Regions from separate parts of the Homo sapiens genome. Here region 2 is linked to region 1. The links are contacts of gene promoters, found by promoter capture Hi-C in blood cells and fetal thymus (Javierre and others, 2016). All regions are on one chromosome and are shown on one strand. Each heading gives the region's core, a stretch centred on a gene start or on the middle of the fragment in contact. The rest is flanking DNA. Distances are from core to core; before and after follow the strand shown.

The links. The method cuts DNA at HindIII sites, captures the fragments that hold promoters and counts their contacts. A CHiCAGO score of 5 or more calls a contact.
Region 2: a contact is called between a fragment that was not itself captured here and the fragment with the promoter of PCDHB14 in region 1, in 3 of 17 cell types (M1 macrophages, M0 macrophages and M2 macrophages). The highest score is 8.2, in M1 macrophages.

The regions. Positions count from the first base shown.
Region 1 is chr5:141,219,275-141,224,633 of GRCh38, reverse strand. PCDHB14 (protocadherin beta 14) reads right to left here and starts at 1,291. Exons shown (of 1, transcript NM_018934.4): 1 at 1-1,291. The coding sequence starts at 1,128. It also overlaps PCDHB@. The HindIII fragment of the contact is 16,360 bases long and covers 1-2,101 here.
Region 2 is chr5:141,264,168-141,269,586 of GRCh38, reverse strand. It overlaps LOC105378199 (a long non-coding RNA gene), which reads left to right and starts at 829. Exons shown (of 2, transcript XR_001742473.1): 1 at 829-1,118. The HindIII fragment of the contact is 184 bases long and covers 1,667-1,850 here.

The sequences.
Region 1 (5,359 bases), core at 42-2,541:
TCCAGAGTCTTGGTCTAGGATACTAAAAAGAGCTACTAGGGTCTCTGAGGCATTCTCTGGAATTCTCTTTGTAATCGACGATATGGTCACTTCTGGTGGGTTGTCGTTTATATCCATAACTTTAACTAGAAGGGTGCATTTTCCTGAAAGACCCCCACCATCTGTTGCCTGAATATTTATAGTGTAGGACTGTATTACTTCAAAATCCAGGGGTGATCTCAAATTAACTTCCCCAGATATTGGATTAATTTCAAATGTTTTACGAATATCTTCTGATGCATGGAAAAATGTGTAAGATATTTTTCCATAGTTTCCTGCATCCAGATCCTTAGCTGAGATGGTGGCAATCCAGGAGCCAAGGGGTCTGTCCTCGGGGACTTGCACCTCATAGAGACTCTGAGGAAACTCAGGGGCATTATCATTGATGTCCAACACCTTGATGAGAACCAAAGTTGTCCCAGACTTGGGCGGGGATCCACCATCCACTGCTGTGAGTGTTAATCTGAGTTCAGCTTCCTGTTCATAATCTAAAGCTCTATCTAGGACCAGCTCTGGGTATATCTTTCTGTCACTACTGTCGGGAATTTTAATGTAGAAGTGAGAATTGGGGCTAATTGTGTAGTTTTGGAGACTGTTGCTTCCGACATCCAAATCTTGAGCACTCTCCATTAGAAAGGTAGCTCCAACAGTGGTACCTTCTGATATTTTAATAAGTATTTCCTTGTCTAGAAATGTAGGGGAGTGATCATTTATGTCTTTGACACACAGCTCAAACCGAAAAAACTGTAAAGGGTTTTCCAAAACCACCTGAAAATGCAGCACACAGGGCTCGGTGGAGCCACACAGCTCGTCTCGGTCTAGTTTCTCATTTAGGAGCAAATTCCCAGTCAGCAAATCAAGGTGCAAATACTTTTTATTATCATCAGACACTACCCGGGCTTCACGTGAAGACAGCTCCTCCACCCCCAGCCCTAGGTCCCTCGCTAGATTAGCCACAAAAGAGCCAATTTCTGTTTCCTCTGCCACAGAATAGTGTGCAGATTCAGTACCTGCCCGAGACAATCCCAGCAAAACAAGGAATATTAGAACTTGCCTTTTTCGCAGATCGAGTGCCCCTCTGATCTCCATGGTTCCTTTAGGCAATCTCTTGTGGAAAAACTGAAGCTCAGCCGTAATTTTGGAAGCTGAAGCTCTGGTTTTTAACAGGAACCCCCTGGAGAGTGTATCCTCCAGCAGCTCTGTAGGCGAAGCTCCTTTAATGCCTGTCTTTTCAGTGGGTTGGATGCTTTCTGTTCTCCTGAATAGCGAAGCTCACCGTGCCAGCCTATGTACTGTTTTCGTCTTATCCTGTAGCGCCACCATGTGTCTCCATGTTTTTTTTTTCATTAAAAAAGTTTTCCTCTTTGAAAAAGTAATTCATAAATACATCCGGAACATTCGAAACAAATCCCAGACATCATTTTTTTTCCTTTAAATACTTCACTAAGTATTTTTAATAGGTAAGGCCTTCTAAAAGATAATTGTAATAAAACGTTCACAATCAACAACTTGAGCAATAATTCCTTGGTGTAATTTATACTGCATTTGGTTTTCCCCAGTTCTCTCCAAAATGTCCTTTGCTGTTGGTTTGTTTGAATTTGAATCCAGAAAAGTCCATACACTGCATTATCACTGTTTTGAATGCTCGGCACTAAAGGATCTGTTAAAATATTCTGAACTGAAGAAATAATTTTTTATTTAAGTCATTTCTCGAGTAATTACAAATATATTATCTCCTTCACTCTTGTAAATACTTGTTGTCAGCTATAGTTGGTAATATCATTACTTTTTTCACTTTTATATTTTAAAAATATAAAGAAGGACATGGCACAAATAAGTTAGAGATAATTCTTGCTCTTACAGAGCTCACAAGCTAGAAAAATTGGCAGACAAGTAAACGAAGTATGTCATAATGTATGCATTTATAAAAAGTAATATAGAAATACCTAGAAAAGACTTCTTGTACCTAGGAGGCTGCATACCTTAGTGCTTGGGAATATGGGATCTGGAACCAAATTATCAATATTAGAATCCTGGTTATGTGACTTACTATCTATAAGCTTGGGCAAGTTATAGATACCTTTGTTTCCTCACCTGTAAAATGGGGTAATAATATTTGTCTCCTATGATTATTATCGTAGGCATCTAATGAATTAATATTTACAAAGTGGTTTGTAAGTGCTGGTTAAGTGTCTGTCAAAAATAAAATAATTAAGATCAAAGTCGGACTTGGGACATCAGTGAAAGCTTTCCTGAGGTAATGAAAAATACATTGTGATCTGAAGGAACTAGCCAGGAGAAGGAGGAATATTTCAGATGGGCATTTTGAGGAACACAGAGAAATGAAGTATGCCTTGGACTTTAAAAACTATGGAAGGGGAGGGTCTAACAATGAAATTAGGGTTAAAAGCATGGTGAGAACATGAATCATTATACAGGTCATATCATGCATTCTTGAATTTATCCTAAAGGTAATTCAAGTACAAAGATGGGTTTTAAATATCTGATTAACATGATTACATCTGCATTTTAAAAAATCAGTTTGGCTGCAGTATGGAGAATTAATTTCAGGGGGAGTGACTGGAGAATCAAGGAGATCAGATAAGAGATGATGATCTGGATGAGGATAATGCCAGTGTGGATGGAGAGAAGAGGGATGAATAGAAAGGTATGAGGAGATGAAATGTTTTCAACTGTTGGTTGATAGGTTGCATGGGGAGAAAAATGGGAAAGACTCAGAGATGATATCACACCTCTGGACTGGGCATCTGGATGACTAGTGGTGTCATTCACTAGGACAGGGAATGCTAAAAAAAAACATGATTGGGGTGGAAAAAGATGAAGTGTTCAGTTTTGAACATGCTGATATTGAGGTAAGTGCCTGTAGGATGTGTGTTTGCGTGGTGGTGGGGTGTGTGTGTGTGTGTTTGCATATAACCAAAGCATAGGAAATAAATCTGAGCTGGCAATATGAACTGTGGTGTGTATATATGTATATATATAGAGAGAGACAGAGAGAGACAGAGAGAGAGAGCATATATATAGCATATATATAGAGAGAGAGCATATATATAGCATATATACAGAGAGCATATATATAGCATATATATATATATAGCATTCATGGTTTCAATCACCATATATATATATATATATATATATATACACACCATGAATGCTCTAGGATAACCAAGCAAAAGTGTGTCAAATAAGTATAAAAGAGGCTTGGCACAGAACTCTGAGAAACATCTTCATTTAGAGGAGACAGGGCAAGAAGTATATTTGAAAAGATAAAGAAGGCTCAGAGTTCAAAATCATGAAATCAAAAGCAAATAGCATTTTAAGGAGATAAGGAAGATCAATGGCTGCAAATGCTTCAGAAAAATCAAGAAAAATAAGTATGACAATTATCCAGTGGGCTTAAAAAGATGGTCATTGTGGAGGATTCTGATAGATGTCTGACAAAATCTGTTTTCCTTTGCTTCTATAGTAATAGAACTGTGCCCAGGTATGTGGCCATGAAGGTAGATTGCCCATCCCAGCCTCCCTTGTATTTGAGTGTGGCCAAGTGAATTAAGTTCTCACAGATGGATTGTGAGCAGAATTTCTGTCTTCCCCTTCCAGTTATAGAACAGAAATCATCTGGATATGCCTCTTTCTTCCAAGCGAGCTAGAACCCAGATGTGACAGTGACCCAGCTACAGCCATGCAGATTATATTGCCATAGGGAATGTTGAAGAAATTACTTGAAAGAAAATTTGGTTTCAGAAGGACTGTGAGGATGAAAGCTGCCCTACCTACCTAATAATTTTTACATTGGTACTGTCATGTGAAAAAGAGAGACATGTTTACAAGCCACTGTGTCATTGCATCACATTGGTTCCACAGTATAATCTTAACTTATATGGAAATCTTTGATAACATTTGCAATAGCAGTTTCAGTAGAATGGTTGTGATGAAAATTAGATTGTACTTCGGTGCAAAGTGAGGCGGATGAGGAAGCAAAAATGAGGTAAACCGCTCTTTCAACAATTTTTTTTTTGAGACAGGGTCTCAGTCTGTCACCCAGGCTCACTGGCTCACTGCATCCAGGCTCTCAAGAAATTTGTAAAGAATGAAAAGGCTGTAAAAGGAATAAGAAATACATTGGTATCTGGAGAAGAATTCAGACTCAGAGAGTATTTTAAAGACTAGAGAAACTTGAATATATTTAAAATGCCAATGTGTAATGTTCAGTAGGGAAGGAGAAAATTAAGATACAGAAGGGATAATGCAAGTCCCCTAGAAAGGTTGTTAAAGATGGGATCCAGGCAATGTATGAAGTGTTTGGATTTAGACCAGTGGGACGGACCTCAGCAGGTGAAAAGTATAGATACAGATGCTGTTAAAGCTGTGGAGTAGGGGACAGGAAAATGAATTTCTAGCTGATGGATTCTATTTTCTCAATAAGGTATCAGGCAAGTTCATCGGATAAAAGGGGGTATCTAAGTGGTAGGGTAAGAAGTTTAAAGTAAGATACGTAGGTTTAAAATAGTTGTTGTGGAGCGTAGAAGAGAAAGCTCGTTAGAAAAATTATAAAAGGAGTTCTTGGTCTCAGAAGCCCAATTAGGTTTGAATATTATACATTTATAGTGGCAGTGGTATTGCTAATTTTGTAAGTTTGGTCTTATAGAGTGCAGCACCCCATGTGTAAGAGAGGAGGAGGACTATATTCATCTGGGCTGGAGTTTCATCAGGTGGTTTTAGTGAAGGAAAATTGAACAAGGGAATTGAGAATATGGGCATGAGAGCAACTGGGAGTGGTAAACCAGGAAATCAGCTGAATAGGAAGGAAATTAAAACAGGAGCGTTTGATAGGTAGTAACAGCACCATGGAATGGAGCTCTGATAAGGTCAAAGACAAGATGTGATAGAAACAGCAGAATGAGAAGGTTATAGGCATAGACAATTGTGCACTCAGAGGGAGATAGCTGAAATTATTATATCATAGAACAGTTTCTTGGTGGGGAAAAAGTACAATATGTAGCCAGGGCATTAATGACTGAAAAACAGGAGTAGAGGTAAAGACTTAGGGACTGAGAGGCCATGTTGTTAGATTAATCAGTGGACCCAGGAGTGGTGGTAGAACTTGAAACAGAAAGATAAAGAGAACAATGTGTTTGTAAGATAAAATGTCCTATGTCCCTTTTCCCTCCCATACTATTGCCTAAATAAAAAAAAAATACTGTTATTTGGTTTTTATTGTAAGCGTTTTCAGGAGAATCCATTCTGTAAGGCTGGGCCATCTCTTGTGTCTCTATTTTCTAAGTGTCCTTTAACC
Region 2 (5,419 bases), core at 509-3,008, 44 kb before region 1:
CCTCAAGTGATCCACCTGCCTCGGCCTCCGAAAGTGCTGGGATTACAGGCATGAGCCACTGCGCCCAGCGTTAAACATAATTTTATCTGCTGAGTCATAACTCCCAAGTGGTGTTCCTGTTCTTAATGCATTCTGGAGTACCTGTAGAGCCTTCTTTGATTTGGAGTTCAGTTTAAAGCTGGCAGCCTTAACAGTGACTCAGCAAAAAGATCAGAGAAGGATGCCAAAAGATAACATGTTGCCTCCAAAATCAAGAGGCTCACCAAGTTTGCCTTTTTCTTCATGGTAGGGAGTGTAGGAAGGGCAGCAGCAACTTGTTTTTCACTTTCTTGGAAATATCTTAACATGCCCTAGATTTCTGAATCCCCCAAAACTTCAGAGAGGACAGTTCCTTAAATTGTTGTGGGGCTTACTTATCTCCTCTTCTGCCATACATACGTCTTACGAAGGCATCTAGGGCACATGTTACTTGCTATTGAAGAGGTACAATCAGCATGATCCCATTAGCGTGCTGGAAAAATGTGATGTCCTATGGGATGGTGAGATAATTAGAACCTTGTATGACTCTCAGAGGAGCAGGAGCACCCCTAACATTTGTGATACCTAGGGCAAGAATAAAAATAGAGATTTATTTTCCCAGCTACTCGGGAGGCTGAGGCAGGAGAATGGCGTGAACCCGGGAGGCGGAGCTTGCAGTGAGCCGAGATAGCGCCATTGCAGTCCGGCCTGGGCGAAACGAAAGAGCCAGACTCCGTCTCAAAAAAAAAAAAGAAAAAAGAAAAAAAAATAGAGATTTATTTTCCTGAGTCTTTGTTTTTTTTTTTTGTTTTTGTTTTTTTTTCCTCTACACTATTGAAACTGTGCCCCAAAGAGTTAAAGAAACCAGTAACTAACAGAAATTCTTGAGTTTTCATAATGGCAGATAAGAAACAACTTGCTGAAACACTGAGACTCCCTCTGCTTAAAAGAAATGAACTGGCTGAAATCGGTTGTAACCTAGATAGATAAATGGAGTTTGCACAGAATGAGCTTGCTGAGATCGCAGCCTGAGTTTCCACCACAGGTTTCATACTAACTCCCCCGAATTCGCACAAAGACCCTTGCGGAGGCATGAAGAGGTAAGTGCACATGCCCAAGGACTTCCCATGCCTCCCCTTTCCTTCCGCTAATCACCGCTCTCAGAATCTGCCCCCTAAATCTTTTCTTTTTCTTTTCTTCCTTTGTTTCTTTTTTTTTTTTTTTTTTTGAGACGGAGTCTTACTCAATCGCCCAGGCTGGAGTGCCGTGGTGTGATCTCCGCCCATTGCAACCTCCACCTCCCGGGTTCAAGTGATTCTCCTGCCTCAGCCTCCTGAGTAGCTGGGATTACAGGCGCACGCCACCACGCCTGGCTAATTTTTGTATTTTTAGTAGAGGCAGGGTTTCACCATGTTGGCCAGGCTGGTCTCAAACTCCTAACCTTAGGTAATCCACCCGCCTCGGCCTCCCAAAGTGTTGGGATTACAGGCGTGAGCCACCACGCCCAGCCCCGTAAAGCATTTCTAACAAAATTACTGCCTGAAAGCCAGCATGGGAAGACACTTGACGTTTACTCCTGTCTCCTTGGGAATCCATTTTCTTTCCTTTGTGTGTTTGTTGCTATAACAAAGACTTTCAATATAAAGCTTTTCTTTTCTCAAAAATGCAGTGTCATATTATTGGCTTCTAGCATATCAGGTAGTGAGTCCCTTTTGCTGGATAACATTATCCTAAGGCATTATTAGCATCTTAATTTCCTTTGTTAAATTGTGGCTGTCATTGAATTGAGTCAGCTGACCAAAAGAACTATTAGAGATAATCATGTGAAAGCTTGAACACTGAATTCAGAATCTCTGGCAAACGAACCCACCTAAATTCAACTCAATCTAAAGGTTTTTTCTTTGTTTTCTGTTATAGCATACTCAGTTCTCAAACATATTCCTAAGGTTTCTGTGATGTAGTTAGCAAAATTATGCAATTCTTTCAGTATATATGCCTTCTAATATTGGGACTGGCTTTGTGCTTGTCCCCATTGAACATGCTAGGATATGAATCTAATTAGAGGTCTAGAGGCAATGAGAGTTGGCAAATGAAGGGCATGGAGAAAATTAGCAACCCTTTGCAATGTAACTGTCTCAGCTGAGGTCATTACAGACTATGCATGCAAAGAGGACAGTCTTATTAAAAAGGAAAATGAGTTTGCTTCTGCTGGGATAAAAAAGGGCTCAATTGGTTTGGGGATTCAAGATACAATCACATCTGAATTCACCTAGCTGTCCCCATTCCCATTCTAAGGATACTACTCTTTCTGGATCAATGCTCTAGCAATTTCATTAAAAAACATGCAGTGGTTGTGAATTCAACTTTGTAATTATTTATCAACCTGAAGAATCAGACTTTTTGTCTGATTTTTATCTATGTAGTCCTGTAGCCGTGGGATAAAAGAGATGTTTTTAAAGCAATCATTAAAATATTTGATTTTCATATCTTTCCTGACCCAAGAATTTTAAAACCCTAAGTTCGTTATTTTCTTTAATTGAATTCTCGATTGCAGTCAAAAGTAATCACCACATCCCCTGAACCTTTCTCTTCCCCACCATAATGCTTTGGTACACCAGCCACTTTGCTTACCAGAGAATTACCTTCAATAAGCAATTAATTCCAGACAAACACAAGTGATAACCTGAGTAAATGTTTTGCTGTTGCTTACCAGGGACTACCAATATCTTATTTTCTAGAGGATATGGGACTATCATTGCCTTTGATCTATCTAGGTCATATAATCTATCCTAAATTTCATTCTTCGGTGTTTGTTGCCTGCAAATTCTGGTACAAAATATATTTTTGGGGCTCAGGGCACATAACAAAAACAACTCTAATCAGTTTAAGCAGAAAAATATTTAACAGAGATAATTAGATTTTTATAGCATCATTGGAATGTGTGGATAAGTGGAACTCAGGAACTATTGAGTTCCAAGAACAACTTGCTACACCTGTGACCCAGGGTTAGTAGGCCACTTCTACTGTTGCTACCACCTCTCAATACCCACACAGTTGCTCCTAGATACAGGAACACTCAATCTGGCTGTTGCTCCTGGTGACACTGGAATGCTGAACCTTCCTTCCACAGCTACTTCTCAACCCTTTGCTTGTACAACCAAATGCAGCAGTATAGCAGATGCTATTGATGCCTGTCCTATATTCCCTTGGCCCACCTCAGAGTTTACCTGCAGTTCAATGAAAACTTTTTAGCAAGCTTACAGCAGCTTCTCTTGTGATATGGTTTGGCTGTGTCCCCACTCAAATCTCATCTTGAATTGTACTCCCATAATTCCCACGTGTTGTGGGAGGGACCTGGTGGGAGATAATTGAATCATGAGGGCAGTTTCCCTCCTACTGTTCTGGTCGTAGTGAATAAGTCTCATGAGATCTGATGGTTTTATCAGGGATTTCCACTTTTGCATCTCTCTCATTTTCTCTTGCCGCTGCCATGTAGGAAGTGCATTTCACCTACTGCCATGATTCTGAGGCCTCCCTAGCCATGTGGAACTGTAAGTCCAATTAAACCTCTTTTGCTCCCTAGTTTCAGGTATGTCTTTATCAACAGTGTGAAAATTGACTAATACATCATGTCAAGCACTTTTGTCTTTCTACTTCTCTTCCTGGGAGGGATTTCTCTGATGCCATAGGAGCTTGCTCTGCCCATTCACATTGCAATCTGGAATTTCCAGAAATTTAATGCCCTTAGGGTTAACACTCAATGAAAGATGGAAGGTGAGATCAGTCTACCACTAACTTTCTGGTTCTTTGATGGGACAATTCTACAGTATGTTCCACACAGTTCCTCATAGAGTTCCCTAGCAAGATTGAGGCCCATGTATTCACAATGGTAATCTGCTTATTAAAATAATAATTTTTAATTTATTGATGTTTCTCCCTTCTTTTTCTCAGTTTCCACACTTCCTCACTGGTGCTTCTCTAGATAACTTTTTAAATAAATTAATTGCACCTAAGTCCTTGTCTCTAGGTCTGCTTTTGGGAGAACTCAACAAAGATAGCAACTTAGAAAGCAAATTCTAAGGATGGGATTCTGAACTTGAATTACTTGCTGGTCACATGGCAGCAATCCAATTCTGGTAGAAAGTGGGGTTGTGATAATCCCTGTCATGCTGTAGCATCCCACTTACTAAGATTCTCACCTGTGGAGGATTGAAATGAGCAACAGGTATAACTACTGGCTTATGCAATAGCTTCTGCACATGACACAAATGGAAAAAATTGTAATTGAAAGGATTGTGAAGTTTGCTTCTTTTTTCTACTGACCATAAGCCCTGAATATATAGCATGATTAGCTCAAATTATCCACCTATCAATTTAGAGAACACTGTGAAAGCCAAAGGCTTTCCATGGAAAAATTTTAAAAGACATCTCTTTTCTACAGCTGGAGGGCTAGATGTACTGAAAATCAGGCTCAGTATTTGAATGTATTAGTGCCAGAGCTACAAAGCAGACTGAAAACACAACGATCTAAGTTTTCTTTGTTAAAGTTAGAATCCTGATAGGAAAGAAATATTCCACATACTCTGAGTCCTGGGATGAGGACATTTGGTTGGATGTACTTGAGATACTTATATTCTCAGATTCCCTTGAACTCTTTCTAGCCATGGATCCTCCTCCTTTCTAGGGAAATAAAGCCTTTCATTGCTTGGAGATAATGTAATGCCTTCATCTGATATTAATGCCTTACAAGATGAAACTTACCCTATTCAAGACCTGTCCCCACTGCTTTTATATCTATAACTAAGGTTAAATAATGACGTGAGCTGGAAAGTACAATTCCTGCTCATGAGAAAAATAAATCCTATTCATTAGAAAATAAAATTTAGGCCAGGCACAGTGGCTTATGCCTGTAATCCCATCACTTTGGGAAGCCGAGGCAGGCAGCTCACAAGGTCTGGAGATCGAGACCATCCTGGCCAACATGGTGAAACCCTGTCTCTACTAAAAATACAAAAAAATTAGCTGAGCATGGTGGCATGCACCTGCAGTCCCAGCTACTCAGGAGGCTGAGGCAGGAGAATTGCTTGAACCCGAGAGGTGGAGGTTGCAGTGAGCTCAGATCGTGCCACTGCACTCCAGCCTGGTGAGAGAGCGAGACTCCGTCAAAAAAAAGAAAAGAAAAGAAAATTTAAAAAAATTATATTCACTAAAGAAACTACAAGGCATGGCTAATATGTACCAGCAGAAACATGGGGATTATGCTTGGAAATTAATATTGAACATAAATGTGTGTGTGTGTGTGTGTAATATGCTGCTGGATAGAGGAGTGTTTAGGGTACAAAGGTACTCTCTCTTGACTTCAGATTTGTACTTCAGAATTGCCTCCTGGCAATGACACCTA